Regions from separate parts of the Homo sapiens genome. Here all the other regions are linked to region 4. The links are contacts of gene promoters, found by promoter capture Hi-C in blood cells and fetal thymus (Javierre and others, 2016). All regions are on one chromosome and are shown on one strand. Each heading gives the region's core, a stretch centred on a gene start or on the middle of the fragment in contact. The rest is flanking DNA. Distances are from core to core; before and after follow the strand shown.

What was found. The method cuts DNA at HindIII sites, captures the fragments that hold promoters and counts their contacts. A CHiCAGO score of 5 or more calls a contact.
Region 1: a fragment that was not itself captured here is called in contact with the fragment with the promoter of NHLRC1 in region 4 in 1 of 17 cell types (neutrophils); the score reaches 5.4 in neutrophils.
Region 2: a fragment that was not itself captured here is called in contact with the fragment with the promoter of NHLRC1 in region 4 in 1 of 17 cell types (neutrophils); the score reaches 9.6 in neutrophils.
Region 3: a fragment that was not itself captured here is called in contact with the fragment with the promoter of NHLRC1 in region 4 in 5 of 17 cell types (naive B cells, neutrophils, monocytes and 2 more); the score reaches 7.2 in naive B cells.
Region 5: a fragment that was not itself captured here is called in contact with the fragment with the promoter of NHLRC1 in region 4 in 4 of 17 cell types (monocytes, neutrophils, megakaryocytes and 1 more); the score reaches 7.9 in monocytes.
Region 6: a fragment that was not itself captured here is called in contact with the fragment with the promoter of NHLRC1 in region 4 in 1 of 17 cell types (neutrophils); the score reaches 5.9 in neutrophils.
Region 7: a contact is called between a fragment that was not itself captured here and the fragment with the promoter of NHLRC1 in region 4, in 1 of 17 cell types (neutrophils). The highest score is 6.9, in neutrophils.

The regions. Positions count from the first base shown.
Region 1 is chr6:17,748,980-17,751,898 of GRCh38, forward strand. No RefSeq gene overlaps it. Among named protein-coding and RNA genes, the nearest start is that of NUP153-AS1, 43 kb to the left of the region's middle. The HindIII fragment of the contact is 2,861 bases long and covers 203-2,919 here.
Region 2 is chr6:17,690,199-17,693,031 of GRCh38, forward strand. All of the region lies in intron 1 of NUP153 (nucleoporin 153), which reads right to left. Among named protein-coding and RNA genes, the nearest start is that of NUP153, 15 kb to the right of the region's middle. The HindIII fragment of the contact is 2,345 bases long and covers 132-2,476 here.
Region 3 is chr6:17,670,388-17,673,332 of GRCh38, forward strand. The region is part of intron 5 of NUP153 (nucleoporin 153); the gene reads right to left. Among named protein-coding and RNA genes, the nearest start is that of NUP153, 35 kb to the right of the region's middle. The HindIII fragment of the contact is 674 bases long and covers 1,049-1,722 here.
Region 4 is chr6:18,121,427-18,124,126 of GRCh38, forward strand. NHLRC1 (NHL repeat containing E3 ubiquitin protein ligase 1) reads right to left here and starts at 1,251. Exons shown (of 1, transcript NM_198586.3): 1 at 1-1,251. The coding sequence starts at 1,180. The HindIII fragment of the contact is 6,107 bases long and covers 555-2,700 here.
Region 5 is chr6:17,654,071-17,657,048 of GRCh38, forward strand. The region is part of intron 11 of NUP153 (nucleoporin 153); the gene reads right to left. Among named protein-coding and RNA genes, the nearest start is that of NUP153, 51 kb to the right of the region's middle. The HindIII fragment of the contact is 2,465 bases long and covers 123-2,587 here.
Region 6 is chr6:17,709,918-17,712,617 of GRCh38, forward strand. NUP153-AS1 (NUP153 antisense RNA 1) reads left to right here. Exons shown (of 3, transcript NR_134618.1): 3 at 872-1,110. Among named protein-coding and RNA genes, the nearest start is that of NUP153-AS1, 4.2 kb to the left of the region's middle. The HindIII fragment of the contact is 2,783 bases long and covers 1-2,667 here.
Region 7 is chr6:17,621,363-17,624,290 of GRCh38, forward strand. The region is part of intron 20 of NUP153 (nucleoporin 153); the gene reads right to left. Among named protein-coding and RNA genes, the nearest start is that of FAM8A1, 23 kb to the left of the region's middle. The HindIII fragment of the contact is 4,037 bases long and covers 1-2,928 here.

The DNA.
Region 1 (2,919 bases), core at 383-2,882, 370 kb before region 4:
TCAGCCTCCCGAGTAGCTGGGATTACAGGCACGTACCACCATGCCTGGCTAATTTTTGTATTTTTAGTAGAGACGGTTTCACCATGTTGGCCAGGCTGGTCTCAAACTCCTGACCTCAGGTGATTCGCCCGCCTTGGTCTCCCAAAGTGCTGGGATTACAGGCATGAGCCACCGCACCCGGCCTTTACTACATTTTAGAATAAGCTTATTTTCTCAAGTTTGTGTGTGTTTTAAAGAATGATCTCACCTGGCTGGGCGCAGTGGCTCACGCCTGTAATCCCAGCGCTTTGGGAGGCCGAGGCGGGTGGATCACTTGAGCCCAGGAGTTGAAGACTAACCTGGCCCAAATGGTGAAACCCTGTGTCTACTAAAAATACAAAAAATTAGCCTGGCATGGTGACACACGTCTGTAATCCCAGCTACTTGGGAGGCTGCGGCATGAGAATCGCTTGAACACAAGAGGTGGAGGTTGTAGTGAGCCAAGATCGTGCCACTGCACTCCAGCCTGGGCAACAGAGTGAAGCTGTGTCTCAAAAAAAAAGAATGATCTTTCCTGTCTATATACTGAATCTGTGTCAGGGATGCCCCAATCTTTAGTCAAGAGCTACATTTTATCACCTTAAAGGCTGGAGATCACCAGATAAGGGGGAAACAAACAGCAAAGTATCAGAGCTGCCCAGAAAGGAGGAATGCCACTCCTGCAGTTTTTCCTTTTCTGCTGAAAATTCAAAACTAAGTCAAGTATAACTGTGGCAGCCACTGTACAGTTCTATGCAGTTCTTCTGAACAAGATTTTGAGACTGACTTTTTTTTTTTTTTTTGAGACAGAGTCTCGCTCTGTCACCCAGGCTGGAGTGCAGTGGCGTGATCCTGGCTCACTGCAATCTCCGCCTCCTGGGTTCAAGCGATTCTTCTGCTTCTGCCTCCCGAGAAGCTGGGACTACAGGCGCCCATCACCACGCCTGGCTAATTTTTGTATTTTTGTATTTTTTTTTTTTTGAGACGGAGTCTCGCTCTGTCGCCCAGGCTGGAGGGCAGTGGCGCAATCTCAGCTCACTACAAGCTCTGCCTCCCGGGTTCACGCCATTCTCCTGCTTCAGCCTCCCAAGTACCTGGGACTACAGGTGCCCACAACCACGCCCAGCTAATTTTTTGTATTTTTACTGGAGACGGGATTTCACCGTGTTAGCCAGGATGGTCTCGATCTCCTGACCTCGTGATCCCCCGCCTCGGCCTTCCAAAGTGCTGGGATTACAGGCGTGAGCCACCGCGCCCGGCTTATTTATTTATTTATTTATTTTGAGGCAGAGTCTCACTCTGTTGCCAGGCTGGAGTGCAGTGACGCAATGTCAGCTCACTGCAACCTTCAACTCCCGGGTTCAAGTGCTTCTCCTGCCTTAGCCTCCCGAGTAGCTGGGACTACAGGCTTGTGCCACCAAGCCCAGCTAATTTTTTTGTATTTTTAGTAGAGATGGGGTTTCACCACGTTGGCCAGGATGGTCTCAATCTCCTAACTTCATGATCCGCCCGCCTTGGCCTCCCAAAGTGCTGGGATTACAGGTGTGAGCTACACGCCCCGCCTAAGTTTTCTATCTTTAGTAGAGATGGGGTTTCAAAATGTTAGCCAGGCTTGTCTTGAACTCCTGACCTCAATGATCCACCCACCTCGGCCTCCCAAAGTGCTGGGATTACAGGCATGAGCCACCGCGCCCGGCTGAGACTGACAGATTCTTATGCAGACAGTTTTCCTGGATTTGAAGCCTAGCTCCTTCCCTTTCTGGTCTTTGTGATCTTTTTTTTTTTTTTTTTTTTTTTTTTTGACAGTCTCACTCTGTTGCCCAGGCTGGAGTGCAGTGGCACGATCTAGGCTTACTGCAACCTCCACCTCCTGGGTTTAAGCGATTCTCCTGCCTCAGCCTCCTGAGTAGCTGGGATTACAGGCGTGTGCCACCACACCCAGCTAATTTTTGTATTTTTCGTAGAGATGGGGTTTCACCATGTTGGCCAGGCTGGTTATGAACTCCTGATCTCGGCTTCCCAAAGTGCTGGGATTACAGGTGTGAGCCACCGTGCCTGGCCCTTTGTGATCTTCTGTTGTTGTTGTTTTTTGAGATGGAGTCTTGCTCTGTCACCCAGGCTGGAGTGCAGTGGCACGATCTCGGCTCACTGCAAGCTCTGCCTTCCGGGTTCATGCCATTCTCTCGCCTCAGCCTCCCAAGTAGCTGGGACTACAGGCGCCCACCACCATGCCTGGCTAATTTTTTGTATTTTTTAGTAGAGATGGGGTTTCACCGTGTTAGCCAGGATGGTCTCGATCTCCTGACCTCGTGCTCCCAAAGTGCTGGGATTACAGGCGTGAACCACGGTGCCCGGCCTTGTTGTTGTTTTTTTGTAAGCTCATATTAAGTGATACTCTGTAATCCTGACAGATCCTTAACCCCTTTGAGACACAATTTCCGCATCTGTAAAATGGGGTTAATGACAGTGTCTACCTCACAGGGCTGTTGGAATGATTATGTGAGCAATGCATATTAAATCCCTTACATTTAATAAATAGCAATGCAGTGGAAATATTTTTTATATATTTTTTTGAGACAGAATCTTACTCTGCTGCCCAGGCTGGAGTGCAGTGGTACCATCTTGGCTCACAGCAACCTCTGCCTCCCGGGTTCAAGTGATTTTCTCACCTCAGCCTCCCGAGTAGCTGGGATTACAGGCGTGGGCCACCCCACCTGGCTAATTTTTGTGTTTTTAGTAGAGATAGGGTTTCATTATGTTGGCCAGGCTGGTCTCAAACTCCTGACCTCAAGTGATCCACCCACCTCCGCCTCCAAAGTGCTGGGATTACAGGCGTAAGTCACTGTGCCTGGCTTGAGACTCCATCTCTTAGAAAAAAAAAAAAAAAATCAGGGCTGGGCA
Region 2 (2,833 bases), core at 54-2,553, 430 kb before region 4:
AAAATTAGCCAGGCGTGGTGGCGGGCGCATGTAGTCCCAGCTACTCGGGAGGCTGAGGCAGGAGAATGGCGTGAACCCGGGTGGCGTAGCTTGCAGTGAGCCGAATGTGCAGTAAAATAATTGCTTGAGAAAGCTTGCAGTGAGCCAAGATCTCCTGGGCGACAGAGCGAGACTCCGTCTCAAAAAAAAAAGTATGGGCTTTGGGATTGCCAGGACCTAGGGTAAAATTGGAGGACCTCCCTGTACTTTGATTTACTCTAGGTAAAATAACACTGCCTCCTATTATTTATAGTAATTATAATGAAAATCAAATGAAATAATGTGAAGGCATGTATCAATTTACAAGGTATAACAGAAACATACTGAAAACTTTTTTACTAACAAGGAAAAAAGCTGGCAATAAACTGGGGTAAGGTAACCGATTTTAGGCAACAATTTATTTCACGAAGCAGATTTAGTAGGATTTCAAAGAAAGAGTCAAAGAAAGGAAAAAAATGACTCAGTAGGTACAGAAAACAATAAAATCAAGGCAGAATATATAAATCTACCTAGAAGGGAAACTCAAGACAGAGGCCTTAAAATATCCTGCCAACAAAAAAAATGGAAGACATTTCTGATACAGGCACTTGAATAGTAATTTCCTTACTATGTGAAAAGGTAGCCGGGCGTGGTGGCTCACGCCTGTAATCCCAGCACTTTGGGAGGCCGAGGTGGGTGGATCATGAGATCAGGAGTTCAAGACCAGCCTGACCAATATGATGAAACCCCGCCTCTCCTAAAAATACAAAAAAAAATTAGCCGGGTGTGGTGGTGTGCATCTGTAATCCCAGCTACTCAGGAGGCTGAGGCAGGAAAATTGCTTGGAACTGGCAGATGGAGGTTGCAGTGAGCTAAGATCACGCCATTGCACTCCAGCCTGGGCAACAGAGCAAAAGCGAGACTCCGTCTCAAGAAAAAAAAAGGAAAGGTATAGGTAGCAACTGGGAAGCATGTAATTATTCTTCCATGTATTGTGCAAATTTTCAATAGATCTACAAGTAAGCTCTCTATCAAACACATGAAGCCAAGTTCTAGAACACTAACTACTGAACAACACCAATTCACTGTTCCCTTTTTCTTTGCTAATATTACACAGTATTAGTTACTATGGAAAGAAAGCCTATATACCTATATCCAATATTTAATATTTGTAAAAACACACCTAATACTAGTTACTTATCCCATTTCCATACTTCAAGACTTGAAAGTGTTTAAAAGCTATAATACAGTTTAAGACAGACTTAAGGCTGGGCGTGGTGGCTCATGCCTGTAATCTCAGCACTTTGGGAGGCCGAGTCTGGTGGATCACTTGAGGCCAGGAGCTGGAGACCAGCCTGGCCAACATGGCAAAACCCCGTATCTACTAAAAATACAAAAATTAGCCAGGCATGATGGTGCATGCCTGTAATCCCAGTTACTAGAGAGGCTGAGGCAGGAGAATCGCTTGAACGTGGGAGGCAGACGGGCCATTGCACTCCAGCCTGGGTGACACAGCGAGACTCCAGCTCAGAAAAACAAAAAAAGACTTAAAAACAAAGACATACTTGATATAGGTGACAGGCTAGCTAAAGCACTATAGCAAGAATTTTTTTTTTTCCAGAGACCTGTGTCATACCAGGTAGAGTGCAATGGCACGTGATCATGGCCCACTGCAGCCTCAAACTCCTGGGCTCTCATCTCAGCCTTCCAAGTAGCCAGGACTACAGGCCGACTACCACATCCAGCTATAGCAATTCTAGAATTTAATGTAGATTTAAAAATTTTTTGGGGGACTTCAAGTAAGGTGTTTAGCTACTAAACGTATCAGAGATTCCTGTGATCCCTATCCATCTGGAAGGCAAGTATAGAACAACTTTAAATTGGCTCCACCCTCACTCATAGATCCCTCATGTGGCAACATTAGGTATCTTCAAAAACAACTGGAAAACATAACTGGTCAAAGTGGATATAATAAAGCTCACTCACTAAAATACATGAACTTAGATTACAGACCGATTTTCTATACTAAAATTTAACCAACTTAACTAGTCTCAGCCCAGAAGAGCTTAATAGAGGAACAGTGAGACAGAGACATTACTAGTGGCACAGTGAATGACAGCATGAGGAGTAAAAAGGAATGCAGGCTATATTAGCTAGAACTGTGGCACAGGCCTGTAGTCTTAGCTACTTGGGAGGCTGAGACAGGAGAATCACTTGAGCCTAGGAATTCAAGGTTGCAGTCAGCTATGATTGTACCACTGCGCTCCTGCCTGGGTGACAGAGACCCTGTTTCTAAAAACAAAAAGACAAAAAGAAAGGAGGGAGGATGGGAAGAAGGAAGGAAAATAATAAAATGGACCTGGAACCAGTATGAAGGAACAAACATCCTTGTGTTTCAATACCCTAATATACCTTTGTAGGTTAAATGACCCTAAGTCATTAAGAAAAAGTTAAATTAAGCTTAATATAATTGAGTGGTCCTCAAAGTGTGATCCCTTTTTAGCAGTATTATCAGCATCATCCCAGGTCCTTCTCCAGCCCTTAGTAGGATAATCTCCAGAGGTAGGTCCCACCTGTTTTATCAAGCCCTCTGAAGTGATTCTAATATTGGAAATCAGATACATTTCAGGAAATTAAGATACATTTTAGAGAAGCCCCTCCAAAACAGATGAATAAAATTGTGCATTCTTGAAAGGCTTAATCTTCAGTTATCTAGAAAAAATATACATGTGGAGCACTAGTCAGACAATATTTAAGATTATAATGAAAATATTCTAAAGTGAATCAGGTAAACAAATCTTACAGACCATTTTAG
Region 3 (2,945 bases), core at 136-2,635, 450 kb before region 4:
TCCTGTGACCCTGTTAAACTCGCTTATTAGTTGTGGTGGCTTTTTTTGTATTTTCTTTGGATTTTTCTACGTAGATAAGCATGTTATCTGTGTACAGTAAAAATATTACAGGAATAATACCCTTTCCAATCTGCATGCATTGATTTCTGTGCCTACTGCACTGGCTAGCACCTGCAGTATGATGTTAAACAGTAGCAGTGATAGCAGACATCCTTGCTTGCTTCCTCATACCATTAAGTATGTTGCCAGATGATTTTTTTGTAAATGCACTTTATCAGGTAGAAGGATCTCAACTATACCTAGGTTTGTTCAAAAATTTTTATCATGACTAAATGTTGGATTTTTAAAAAATATTTTATGTATCTATAGAGATGTTCATATAGTACTCTTTAGATTGTTTACATGGTAAATCCCATTAATTTTTTATTTTTTATTTTTTTTTAGACAGAGTCTCAGTCTGTTGCCCAGGCTGGAGTGCGGTGGCACAATCTCGGCTCACTGCAACCTCCGCCTCCCAGGTTCAAATGATTCTCCTGCCTCAGCCTCCCGAGTAGCTGGGATTACAGGCACGTCCAACTGCAACCGGCTAATTTTTGTATTTTTAGTAGAGATAGGGTTTCACCATGTTGGCCAGGCTGGTCTCGAACTCCTGACCTCAGGTGATCTAAGGCCTTCCAAAGTGCTGGGATTACAGGCATGAGCCACCACACCTGGTCTAATCCCATTAATTTTCATATGTTGAGTCAACCTTGCCTTCCCAGGATAAACCCCACTTGATCATGATGCAGTTTCCTTTTTAAATTTGTTGGATTCCATTTACAAATATTTTTGTTGAGGTTTGTGTCTATAATTCATGAGAAATAATAGTCTGTTGCTGTCTTCTAATGTCTTTGTCTGATTTTGGTCTCGGGGTAATAATGTTGGCCTCATAAAAGGTACTGGGAAGTGTTCCCTACTCTCCTACTATACATAAGAGTTTGTGTAGAATTGGTATTATTTCTTTCTTAAATGTTTGGTAGGATTCACCAGGGAAGCTATCTGAGCCTGAAGCTTCTTTGCTGGAACGTATTTTAAATTATGAACTCAATTCACTGAAAAGATAAAAGTTATTCAGGCTACATATTCTTGACTAATACCAAATAACAAAAGTCTAACAAATAAGTCTAACAAAATATGTTCGAGATCTGTATGCTGAACACTACAAAACACTGATGAAAAAAATTTATAAACCACCTAAATGGGAAGATATACCATGTTCATGGTTTGGAAGACTCAATTTTGTTAAGATGCCTATTCTCCCCAAATTGGTCTTTAGACTCAAATGCAATCTCAATCATGGCTGGGCATGCTGGCTCATACCTATAATACCAGCACTTTTGGGAGGCCAAGGTGGGCGGATCACCTGAGGTCAGGAGTTCGAGACCAGCCTGGCCAACATGGTAAAACCCTGTCTCTACTAAAAATACAAAAATTAGTGGGGCATGGTGGTGTGTGCCTGTAGTCCCAGCTACTTGGGAGGCTGAGGCAGGAAAATTGTGTGAACCTGGGAGGTGGAGGTTGCAGTGAACCAAGATCATGCCACAGCACTTCAGCTTGGGCAACAGAGCAAGATCCCATCTAAAAAATAAAAAAAGCAATTCCAATCAAAATCCTAGCAGACTGTAGAAACAAGCCAATTTTAGATTTTTATAGAAAAGCAAAGGACCTAAAAAAGCCAAAACAAGCTTGAAAAAGAACAAAATTGGACTACTCACATCACCTAATTTTAAGACCTACCGGGAAGCCTATGGCAATCAAGACAGTGCAGTTGGCAAAAGGAAAGACACACAGATCAATGGGTGGGTCGGGGGAGGGATGGTCAAAAGTCCAGAAATAAAGCCATGTGAACTGGATTTCAACAAAGGTGCAGGCCAGGCCTGGTGGTTCATGCTTGTAATCCGAACACTTTGGGAAGCCAACACAGGAGGATCGCTTGAGCCCAGGAGTACAACACCAGCCTAGGCAACTTAGTGAGACCCTGTCACTACCAAAAAAAAAATTTAGCTGGGAATGGTGGCACACGCCTGTGGTCCCAGCTACTCAGGAGGCTAAAGTGGGAGGATCACTTGAGCCCAGGAGGTTCTGGTTGCAGTGAGCCATGATCGTGCCACTGCACTCCAACCTGTGTGACAGAGCAAGGCCCTGTCTCAAACAAAAACACAGAACAAAGACGGTGCAAAAGCTATTCAATGAACAAAGAACAGTCTTTTTAACAAATAACACTAGAACAATTGCACACCCATATGTTAAAAAAACAAAAAACAAAAAACAAAAAACCTTGGCCAGGCACACCTGTAATCTCAGAACTTTGGGAGGCTGAGGCAGGAGGATTGCTTGAGCCCAGCAGTTCAGGATCAGCCTGAGCAACGTAGTAAGACTCCTACCTTTCATTTTTTAAAAAAACTTTTTAATTTAGAAAATAAAATGAACCTTGACCAATACCTCATACCACACACAAAAATCTACTCAAAATGAATCATAGGCATAAATTAAAACCTAAAACTATAAAACTTGTAGAAGAAAACATAAGACAAAATCTTTGTGACATGGGATTATAATAGTAAAAATATCTCAGATACGACACCAAAAGCATGAAACCATTAAGAATACACACACACGCACACACACACACAAAAGATGTCATCAAAAGTAAAACTTCTGGCTGGGCGCGGTGGCTCACGCCTGTAATCCCAGCACTTTGGGAGGCCAACGCGGGTGAATCACAAGGTCAAGAGTTCGAGACCAGCCTGGCTAAGATGGTGAGAAACTCCGTCTCTACTAAAAATACAAAAATCAGCCAGGTGTGGTGGCAGGCACCTGTAATCCCAGCTACTCAGGAGGCTGACGCAGAGAATTGCTTGAACCCAGGAGGTGGAGGGTGCGCCACTGCACTCAAGCTTGGGCGA
Region 4 (2,700 bases), core at 1-2,500:
AGTCAACTTTATAGACTTTTATAGAATGAGATGCTGTGTCCAGCACAAGAAGAGAATTCTCCTTGGTGAAGGTAAGAGCCACAGGATGCGAAAGACCATGAGTGACCATGGGCTTCGGTACTGGAAACTCCTCAGGTTTTCCTAAGCAAAGGATAGCTGGACCAGATGTATCTGCAACAATCACATTTCCCTGGTGATCAAAGGTCACAGCGGAGGCAGTTATTTTGGAGGGAAAGTAGAGGCTCAGCCCAAAGGTATCCACTTGGCCGACAAGCTGCATACTTGAGCTAAACACTTTCACCCTGGTGCTGCAAACCCCAGTCCCCAGGGCCAGGGGGTGCTCCAGGACCGCAATGGCCCCGGTGAGCCAAGACACTGCCACCCCTCGGGGATTGCACAGATGAGCTTGCAACCTTTCAGTTCTCCGAAGGACCCCTTCCGCGAAGTCGACGTCCAGGAGGTGCAGGGACCCTGCCTCCGCATCAGTTACCACAATCCCATTCTGAGGGGTGGTCTCCACACCCCAAGGTAAGGAGAATTGGCCTCCAATGACAAGCTTGATCTGGCCAAAAAAATCAAACACTTTGATGGAGCGATCGCCGGCGTCAGTGACAACCACATGGCAGTCGTTGGTGATGGTGACATCCACAGGGTACCTAATGTCTTGGGCAGCGTCCCCCTTCTCTCCAAACTGATGCGCGCATCCTCCCCCTGAGTCAAAAATCTTGACACGCCTCCTGCCGTCGTGCACCACCACGACACGCCCCGTCTTGGGACAAAGCGCCAGTCCGGTGGGGTTGACCAGGGTCCCCCAGCCGCCGAAGGTGTGGTGGCAGGTGAGGGCTCCGGGGGCGCTGGGGGCGGCGCGATGGGCGGCCGGGGACTGGCGAAGCGCTGAGCCCAGGAGCTCTATGAGGTGCAGCACCGGCAGGCAGTCGCTGGTGTCGCAGCCCCGGCAAGCTCGCCTGCAGAATGGGCACTCGAGGGCCAGAGTGCGCGGGTGCGCCAGGGCGGCCACGCAGGCCAGGCAGACCACGTGGCCGCAGGACAGGTTGCGCGGGCGCCGCTGCTGCCGGTGGCCAAACTTCTCAAAGCACACCTTGCACTCGAGCAGGCTGATCTCCGCCTCGCGCATGAGCTCATGCAGCGCTGGCCCGCTCTCCGAGGCTTCGGCCGCCATGGCGCGTCCTGTGCACTCCCGCCGCGCCGCCTGGCCGTGCCCCAGCGACGCTCTCGGTCACGGTCACAGTCATGGTCACGGGGTGGGACGTGCGCCCTGACGTCGAGCGCCGCGGGCCTCTGCACTGCGATCTGCTGCCCCTTGGTGGGCACGCGCGGCACTGTTTCCTGAGGGCCTGATGGTGGACGTTTGCAAGACAAATCCACATGCGCGTTGTGTAGACCTGTAATCGTCACAGCAGTCATGGATGGATTGTGTACACTTTCAGATGAGGAAACACACCTATTGAGGACAACAGGATTGCTCCCTGTCACCCAGCCTGTAAGCGGCAAAACAAGAACTAGAACCCAATCTTCCAGCCCGGGTGCCTAGCAGTGTCTCCAATCCGCAGCGCCGGGTGCTACGGCTGTCCGGGCATAAAACATGGTCCCTTAGCTCATGATGCTTATGATCTGAACCGGAAAACACGAACACACTAGAGAAGATAAACTCCAAGGGAGGTGAGGCAGATGTGTACATTTCTTTTGTGTCTTCTGTCATACTCATAGTTAAGTCAATGTTAGATGAATACATACTTGTAAAATGAATTTGTGCATGAATGAATGTTATAGAACAACAACAACAACAAAAAAAAATCAACGAGGTGAATGAGTGTCAGATGGGGCAACCATGCTGGAAGTGTCTTGCAGAGTAATTAATATGAAATAAGAAAGCTGTTAGTTAATAATAATTACCATAGAACTTCATTTTTTTGTTTTTTAAGACAAAGTCTCACTCTGTCACCCAGGCTGGAGTGCAGGGGCACGATCACAGCTCACTGCAGCCTCCATCTCCCAGGCTCAAGCAATCCTCCCACTTCAGTAGCTGGGACTACAGGCATGCACCATCACACTAGGCTAATTTTTTAATTTTTTTGTAGAGAGGAGGTCTCACTATGTTGCCTAGGCTGGTCTTGAACTTGTGAAAATTGTTCACATTCCTCCCCACCCCTTGGCCTCCCAAAGTGCTGGTGTGAGCCACTGTGCCCAGCCTATGGAATTCACATATGCCTGCCCCATTGTGTTAGGTTGGTGAAAAGGATTCGCAGTGTTTGCCATCACTTTTAATGGCAAAACCGTGATTACTTTTGCAGCAAATTAATAAATAATTTACATAGATTATCTTGTTTAAACCTCATAGCAATCCTACAAAAATATGTTATTTTTATTGTCTTTTTTTCTGATAGAATTCATAGAAATCAAATATCTTGCCCAGGGTCACATGGCTAGGAAGTGGCTGGCCTGGAATTTGAAGCCAGGCAGTTTGACTTCAGAGTTACCTATTTTAGTCATTTTCAAACTTCTTTGCACATGGTAAACACCTGGGTCGCACCCGAAAAGTTTAATTGGCCCATGGTGTGGTCTGGACAGCTGGGATTTATAAAAGCTCCCCAGGTGATTATAATGTACAGCCAAGTTTGAGAAACACTGCATTATAATAATTCCCTCAAATGACACTAAGTTCAGTTTTTCCAATCTCAG
Region 5 (2,978 bases), core at 105-2,604, 470 kb before region 4:
ATCTAACTGCTACTGTGTGTATACGCTGCACAGTTCTTTCAACATTTCATGTTTGAAATTTGTCATAATCAACTGAGGGAGGAGGAACAAACAAAAGATGCATCTGGCTATTTTTGTAGGGAAGCTTCTCTTCTCTGTCCAACCTCCAGCGTAGAACCCTAAAAACATCAACTATATAATCTACTCTCTCATGCCAACTCCTTAAGGCACACACTTGTCCACACTGGTTCCTTATATTACTGACCTTGAACCAATTTTTTTTTTTTTTGAGACGGAGTTTCGATCTTGTTGCCCGGGCCGGACTGCAGTGGTGCGATCTTGGCTCACTGCAACCTCTGCCTTCTGGTTTCAACCGATTCTCCTGCCTCAGCCTCCCAAGTATCTGGGACTACAGGCACCTGCCACTACGCCCAGCTAATTTTTGTATTTTTAGTACAGACAGGGTTTCACCATGTTGGCCAGGCTGGTCTCGAATTCCTGACCTCGTGATCCGCCCACCTCGGCCTCCGAAAGTGCTGCGATTACAGGCATGAACCACCGCGCCCAGCTGACCTTGAACCAATTCTATCATTTGATTTCTACTCCCCCAAATTTTGACTTAGTAGATCATAAGTGGGTCCCACTAATCTAAGAGGAAAAAAAAGCCAAGAATTCTGCTAACTTGATGCTTAGAGACATCTCAAGTAGAACACACATTTCACAATTCACTATCTAATACCTTTGTAATATCCTTACATGGGTTATCTCATATGAGGTAGATACTATTGTTACATATGAAGAAAGTAAGGCAGGGAGATATATGGCATAATACCATACAGCTATTAAGTGGCAGAAATCTTACAGACATGAACACAATATTTATTCTTATTTCCATTTTACAGATAAAAAAACTGAGGAGGTACACAAGAGGTTAATTTGACCAAGGTCACCCAGCTAGTAAGTGGCAGGATTATACAAGACAAGAGCAAGCAATTAAGTCTCTCCAAACTCAAGTCTTCTTATATACTGCTACATGTTTTGTATACTGCTACATGTTTTGTATCAATGAGCTTTTTAACAACACACACAAAAAAACTCATGGATTGATTGGTAGGACAGTAAAAGCAAAAGGCCAATATATTTAATGACTACAATCCTTGCACATTTTAGAATCCAGGATAAGGTGAAAGGTAAAAGATCATTCCAAATGGGTAATTTTACATATAGAGTTCTATTAACCTGAATTTAATGGATCAGAATACATCCATTCCTGCTAAATAGCAACACTATCTGAAATCAGTTAGCATAATGTGTTTACATTTCATTAAAACTAAATCTCTTCCATGTCACTCTTCCAAAGGCCCATGAAAATGCCGCCCCCACAAAAATAACTTTAATCTTATTATTACTTTTTTTTTTTTTAAGACAAAGTCTCAATCTGTCACCCAGGCAGGAGTGCAGTGGTACGATCTCAGCTCACTGCAACCTCCCCCTCCCAGGTTCAAGCGATTCTTCTGCCTCAGCTTCCCGAGTAGCTGGGATTACATGTGCCCGCCATCACACCCGGCTAATTTTTGTGTTTTTAGTAGAGACGGGGTTTCACCATGTTGGCCAGGCTGGTCTCGAGCTCCTGACCTCAGGTGATCTGCCGGCCTCAGCCTTCCCAAAGTACTGGGATTACAGGTGTGAGCCACCGTGACCAGCCAATCTTTTAATTTTTTACCAAAAATTCCCACTAATTATAACTGAAGAAAGAAACAATTTGTGGTCTCAACATATCTGACTTCTGATGCAAACAAGCAGCACTGCATTCAAAACAACTATATAATTGTGTATCCAAACCTATTCTATACAGATATAAAACACAAGGTAGGGCTGGGCGCAGTGGTTCAACCCTGCAATCCCAGCCCTTTGGGAGGCCAAGGTGGGTGGATCTCTTGAGGTCAGGAGTTTGAGACCAGCCTGGCCAACATGGTGAAACCCCATCTCTACTAACAATACAAAATTTAGCTGGGCATGGTGGCGTACGCTTGTAATCCCAGCTACTCAGGAGGCTGAGGCAGGAGAATTGCTTGAACTCAGGAGGTGGAGGTTGCAGTGAGCCAAGATTGCGCCACTGCACTCCACCCTGGGAGACAGAGCAAGACTCTGACAAATAAATAAACAAACAAACCACAAGGTGGGCAGAAAGTGTGGGGCCAACATCACATTAGTACCTCTTTCCTCAGAAATGTGGACATTATAACTTCAGGGTGGAACAGAGCCAGTGATGGGAAGGACTGGGTGAAGAATCCTGTGACACAAAATTGGCAGTTGGCCAGAATGAAGAGAAGAGGCCCAAAGAGGGGAGGAGGTGATACAAACATGAGTGAAGAGGAGTTTTTTTTATTTGTTATTTTTTTAAAGACAGAGTCTCCCCAGCTGGGGTGATCCTCCCACTTCAGCCTCCCTGGTAGCTGGGACCACAGGCGCTAACCACCATGCCTGGTTAATTTTTGTTATTTTTTTGTACACGTGGGGTTTTGCCATGTTGCTCAGGCTAATCTCAAACTCCTGGGCTCAAGCAAACCTCCAAACTTAGGGGGCACCAGGTTTTTGAAGAAAGGAAAGCTTTACTTAGATAACCAACAAGGAAGACAGGAGTCCAGCTCAAATCTGTCTCCCCGCAAATTGGCCTTAAGGTAGTATGTTTATTAGGAAAGGTTTAGGGGGTAGATTCTGGGGAAGGAAAGAGGAAGTCTGAAAAGTCCTTCGACGTGCACAGTTGTCTCTTCATGCCTCTTTATGGGCCACATGTGCAAATTCTGGAGTAGCTGGAATGAAATGTGGAAATTTGGGCTGTGATGTCAGCAAGCTCAGTCTGCACAGACTCTAGTTGGTCATATTAGTTCCAGCCAATTTCAGTCAGTTTTGTTATCTTGCAAGTGGAGAGGGCTTTAGCAAGCTGTTTCTTATCTGCCATCTTGTAAGTTCAAGAATACCTGTTAGCCACTGATTTC
Region 6 (2,700 bases), core at 26-2,525, 410 kb before region 4:
GAGGCCAAGGCGGGTGGATCACTGGAGGTCAGGAGTTCGAGACCAGCCTGGCCAACATGGTGAAACCTGTCTCCACTTAAAAAAAAAAAAAAAAAAATTAGCTGGGCGTGGTGGTGCTCACCTGTAGTCCCAGCCACTCGGGAAGCTGAGGCAGGAGAATCGCTTGAACCATGGAGGTGGAGGTTGCAGTGAACTGAGATCATGCCACTGCACTCCAGCCTGGGCCACAGAGTGAGACTCCATATCAAAAAAATTAAAAAATTAAAACAACAAATATATATATATATGTATATATATATATGTAACCAGCTGCCAATTATAAATTAGCAAATAGGCTGCTGACCCATCTCTAATAGATAAGGAGTATCCACTAATTAAAAGTGAAATACAATTTAGTCTAAACCCAACCTAGATTGAAAAAGAGCCATCATACATTCTTCAGAAGGTACTAATACAATTCTGGCCAAAAGAATGTTTAAAGATGACAAGTACAAGAAGTTACGAAATTTTATGTAGTTATTCCACCTTACCAAAACAAAATGAGGTATCTGCTGTGATGTCTATTAAAACAAATTATCACACTCATGCACAGCATAACAATGTTTCAATCAACAATGGGCCCAATATACAATGGTGGTCCCATAAAGAGCTGAAAAATTCGTATTGCCTGGTGATACTGTCTTTGTCCTAAGGTCTTATTGCAACACATTACTCACGTGTTTGTGGTGATGCTGGTATAAACAAACCTACTGTGTTGCCATTTGTGTAAAAGTGGAGTATGTACAATTATGTACAGTACAGAATACTTCATAATGATAAGTGGCTGTTTCTGGTTTATGTATTTACTATACCTTTTTTTTTTTTTTAACAGGCACTCCTTGCCATTTCCTGTTGCTACCATACTTTATTATTTTAAAGTGTATTCCTGGTCAGGCATGTGGCTCACACCCATAATCTCAGCACTTTGGGAAGCCAAGGCAGGAGGATCACTTGAGGCCAGGAGATTGAAACCAGCCTGGGCAACATAACGAGACCCCTTCTCTACAAAGAAATGAAAAAATTAGTTGAGCTTAGTGGTGTGCACCTGTAGTCCCAGCTACTAGGGAGGCTGAGGCAGGAGGATCACTTGAGCCCAGGAGTCTAAGGCTGCAGCGAGCTATGATCTCACCACTGCAGTCCAGCCTAGGTAACAGAGTGAGACCCCATCTCTAAAGAAAAAAATAAAGAAAATGAAGCTATTGGGTTTATTTATTATTTATTTATTTATTTATTGCCTGTTTGCTTGTATTTTAGGGAAAGAAGGGCCACACAACGGAAAGATATTTAAGGATGTAAATCATTGTATTCTCATTAACTTACTGTGTTCTCTCTCTATTGGGAATAAAGTAATATTTAAGACTAAATTAACTAATATGAGCAAATTTTGATTAACTACATATATCACTTGATTCCAACATGCCATATATTTCCTCTTCCTGACTACATGTATCAATGTATACTAGACTTTGGTATATATGTGTTTATGTACATTACATTATAGTTTAAGGCATATTTTAAATTCAATCTTGAATGGAAACTCAGTTTTATTGGATGAAATAATAACCAAATTTAGGAAGGCAATCCCATCCTAACATTTAAGACAGTTAATGAATTAACTGAGATTAATTCATTAAAACACAAATATTTATTGAGATATTTATGTGTTGGTTTCTAGTCTTGGCATTTAGTATGTCAGTATACAAAACTGTAAAACAATCTCTGTCTACATATTATGCTACACTTTACCATTTTATTGAGTTATACTAAAGTTTACTATTTTATAATCTATTAATCATTAGCACTTAACACTGATAATTCACCTTAAAAATGCTACACTCAAGCCAGGCACAGTGGCTCACACCAGTAATCCAGCAGTTTGGGAGGCCAAGATGTGCGGATCACCCGAGGTCAGGAGTTTGAGACCAGCCTGGCCAACGTGGCAAAACCCCGTCTCTACTAAAAAAATTAAAAAATTAGCCGAGTGTGGTGGCACATGCCTGTAATCCCAGCTACTTGGGAGGCTGAGACAGAAGAATCGCTTGAACTTGGGAGGCAGAGGTTGCAGTGAGCCGAGATCATGCTACGGTACTGCAGCCTGGGCAACTGAGCCAGACTCTGTCTCAAAAAAAAAAAAAAAAACCTACACGTAAATTCTAAACACATGCTGTTGAATCTATCTCATACAAGAAATCAGGGGCGGGCACGGTGGCTCATGCCTGTAATCTCAGCACTTTGGGAGGCCAAGGCAGGCGGATCACGAGGTCAGGAGATCAAGACCATCCTGGCTAACATGGTGAAACCACCGTCTCTACTAAAAATACAAAAAAAAAAAATTAGCCGGGCGCGGTGGTGGGCGCCTGTAATCCCAGCTACTCGGGAGGCTGAGGCAGGAGAATGGCATGAACCTGGGAGGCGGAGCTTTCAGTGAGCGGAGATCATGCCACTGCACTCCAGCCTGGGCGACAGAGCGAGACTCCATCTCAAAAAAAAAGAAAAAAGAAAAAAAAGAAATCAATTGGTTTAGTTTTATTTATTAACATAATTCATCAGTTACATTACGAAACTGGACTTATTAAGGTTGCAGTCTGTAAAACTATAACCTTTGCAAACCTTAGTTTGCTAATACTAAGCTTCTTTATTTTTTAAAAGCATTTGTAGAGA
Region 7 (2,928 bases), core at 292-2,791, 500 kb before region 4:
CAAAGGAGAGGAAATCAGTATATCAAAGAGACACCTGTACCTGATGTTTAGTGCAGCACTATTCACAACAGCCAAGATACGGAATCAATCTAAGTGTCCATCAACAGATGGATACAGAAAATGTGGTTTAATATACAATAAAATACTATTTGGTCATTAAAAGAAAATAACATCTTGTCATTTACTACAACATCTATGGCACTGAAGGACATTATGTTAGGTGAAATAAGCCAGGCACAAAGACACATATTCAATGTTCTCACTCATGTGTAGGAGCTAAAAAACAAGTTGATCTCATAAAGGTAGAGAACAAATGATGGTTCAGAGGCTTCGTTGGGGTGGTGGTAGGAAGGGAAGGTGGTTAACGAATACAAACATATAGCTAGATAGAAGGAATAAATTCTAGTATTTGAGAGCACAGTAGAGTTAACAATAATTTATTGTACATTTCAAAATAGCTAGAAGTTCTGAAATGTTCCCAACACAAAGAAATGATGAATGTTCAAGGTGATGGATATCCTAAATGCCCTAATTTATTACACATTGTATGTATGTAACAAAATAACACATCAGTTTTTAAAAATGAAAAACTTTAAAATATTTTTTTAAAGTTTTTCATTTTTATCAAAAATGCTTTTGGATTATTACTAAAACTATATTTCTATGTATGACAAAAATTAATGCTTTGTGTTTTCTGTGGGAATGACCTTCACTAGACTTTGTAGCATGGCTTTTCTTTTGTTTTGTTTTGTGTTTTTTTGGACAGTTATGCTGCTACCCAGAGTCAAGAGTTTTCTAACATCTTGGCTGGGCACAGTAGCTCACGCCTGTAATCCTAGCACTTTAGGAGGCTGAGGTGGGTGGACTGCTTGAGCTCGGGAGTTAGAGACCAGCCTGGATAACATGGCAAAACCCTGTCTCTACAAACCACGCCCCCCTCCAAAAATGAAACAGATGGGTGTAGTGGTGGTGTCTGCCTGTAGTCCCAGTTTCTTGGCAGGCTCAGGCAGGAGGATGGCTTGAGCCCAGCAGGTTGAGGCAGTAGTGAGCCGAGATTCCACCACTGTACTCCAGTTTGTGCGGCAAGGTGAGACCCTGTCTCAAAAAATTTAAAAAAGGATTTTCTAACATCTTTACTATCCAGGTCTACCTTGTTATAGAACTGAGAACCTCAACCCTAAAATGCTGTCTTTCCCCAAGTTTCAACAACAGTGTGACTCTAATTTTTAGGGCCTCTGTAGCCTTTTCTCAATTCTTTAACTGGAAGAAAGATCTCCTAAAATTGACTTTTTCTTTGTATTTAGTTTATAAAATTGATTGCTCTTTACATAAAAAAAAAATAAAGAGAGGAAGTCAATAATGTCAGAGAAACAAATTTTGTATAGGATAGAAAGTTATAGTATACCATATGGCTCAGCAATAATCAGCATTTCCATAATCAGAATCCTGATCTAACCTTACAGTGTCTCTATATTAAGCAGATAAAGGCTGGGCGTGGTGGCTCACACCTGTAATCCCAGCACTGTGGGAGGCCGAGGTGGGTGGATCATGAGGTCAGGAGATCAAGACCACCCTGGCTAACACGGTGAAACCCCATCTCTACTAAAAATATAAAAAATCAGCCAGGTGTGGTGGCACGTGCCTGTAGTCCCAGCTACTTGGGAGGCTGAGGCAGAAGAATCACTTGAACCCGGGAAGCGGAGGTTGCAGTGAGCGGAGATCAAGCCACTGCACTCCAGCATGGGCGACACAGTGAGATTCTGTCTCAAAAAAAAAAAAAAAAGACGATGACAACAGAGGAAAATGTTACCTGTGTGAAAGAAATAGAAACTTTCCAATTTCATATTAGAGGAAAAAATCCTGATCAAAATGGTTAATGTATATCAGAAAACAGGAGAAATTTTGGTATGTACATTAGCTGACAAAGTACCAATATCCAGAATACATAAAGAACCTCTACAAACTTACACGCAAAAGCCAAACTGAAAAATGGCCAAAAAAAAAAAAAAAAAAACCTTTTAAAACAATTTACACACATGAGAAATCAAATAGAACCCACATATAAGAACTCATACAATGGTGGTAGGATATGAATTGGCAGAATCCATCAGGAAAAGTTTTTATTATCTTCTAGTATAAGATATACAAACCTTTTAATTCAGCAATCCCATGCCACTGTATATACTCTAGAAAAACATACATATGTGCACCAAGGTACATATACAAGAATGTACAGAGTAGCATTTCCTAGTAGTTAAAAACAACTGAAACATATGTCAACAGTAAATAAACTGCAGTATATTCATACAATGATTTACTCTATGGCAATGACAATAAACAAACTATATGCAAAACATGGATGACCCTTACAAGCCTTAGAGCAAAACAATCACAAATCAAAAGACTGCATGCAGTAATATTCCATTTATATAAAAGCAGGCAAAACTACATTTTCTAGGGATGCATCTATTAGCCAATAAATGCAGTAATAAAACCCAAAGAACAGTGATTACCATAAAAGACAAGGCGGTGGTCATCATTAGAGTGGAGAAAGAGAGGAGTGTTTTCAAAAAGAGATACATGAGGGGCTTCCAGGTGGTTGTTATACAGCATTTGCTTCAATATTACACTGTTCACTTATATTTTACACCCCTTTCTACATAATATTATATTTCACAATTAGAAAAAAATCAACAACAATTTTAAGAAAATATAGGATTATAATACAATTTGATTAGTCATATTTAAATATGCAGTTCAAATGGAAAGGCTGGTATCATCAGTAAATAGAAAGTGTCATGAGACAACTCAGCGGGACTGCCCCAGGAGAGAGCACTGGACCTGGGGGTAACTTCCTAACGCAAATCCAATCATAAACAGGATCAGAAAATGCACTTCAAAGCTAGCCTTGCAAGCCCAAAAATTCAA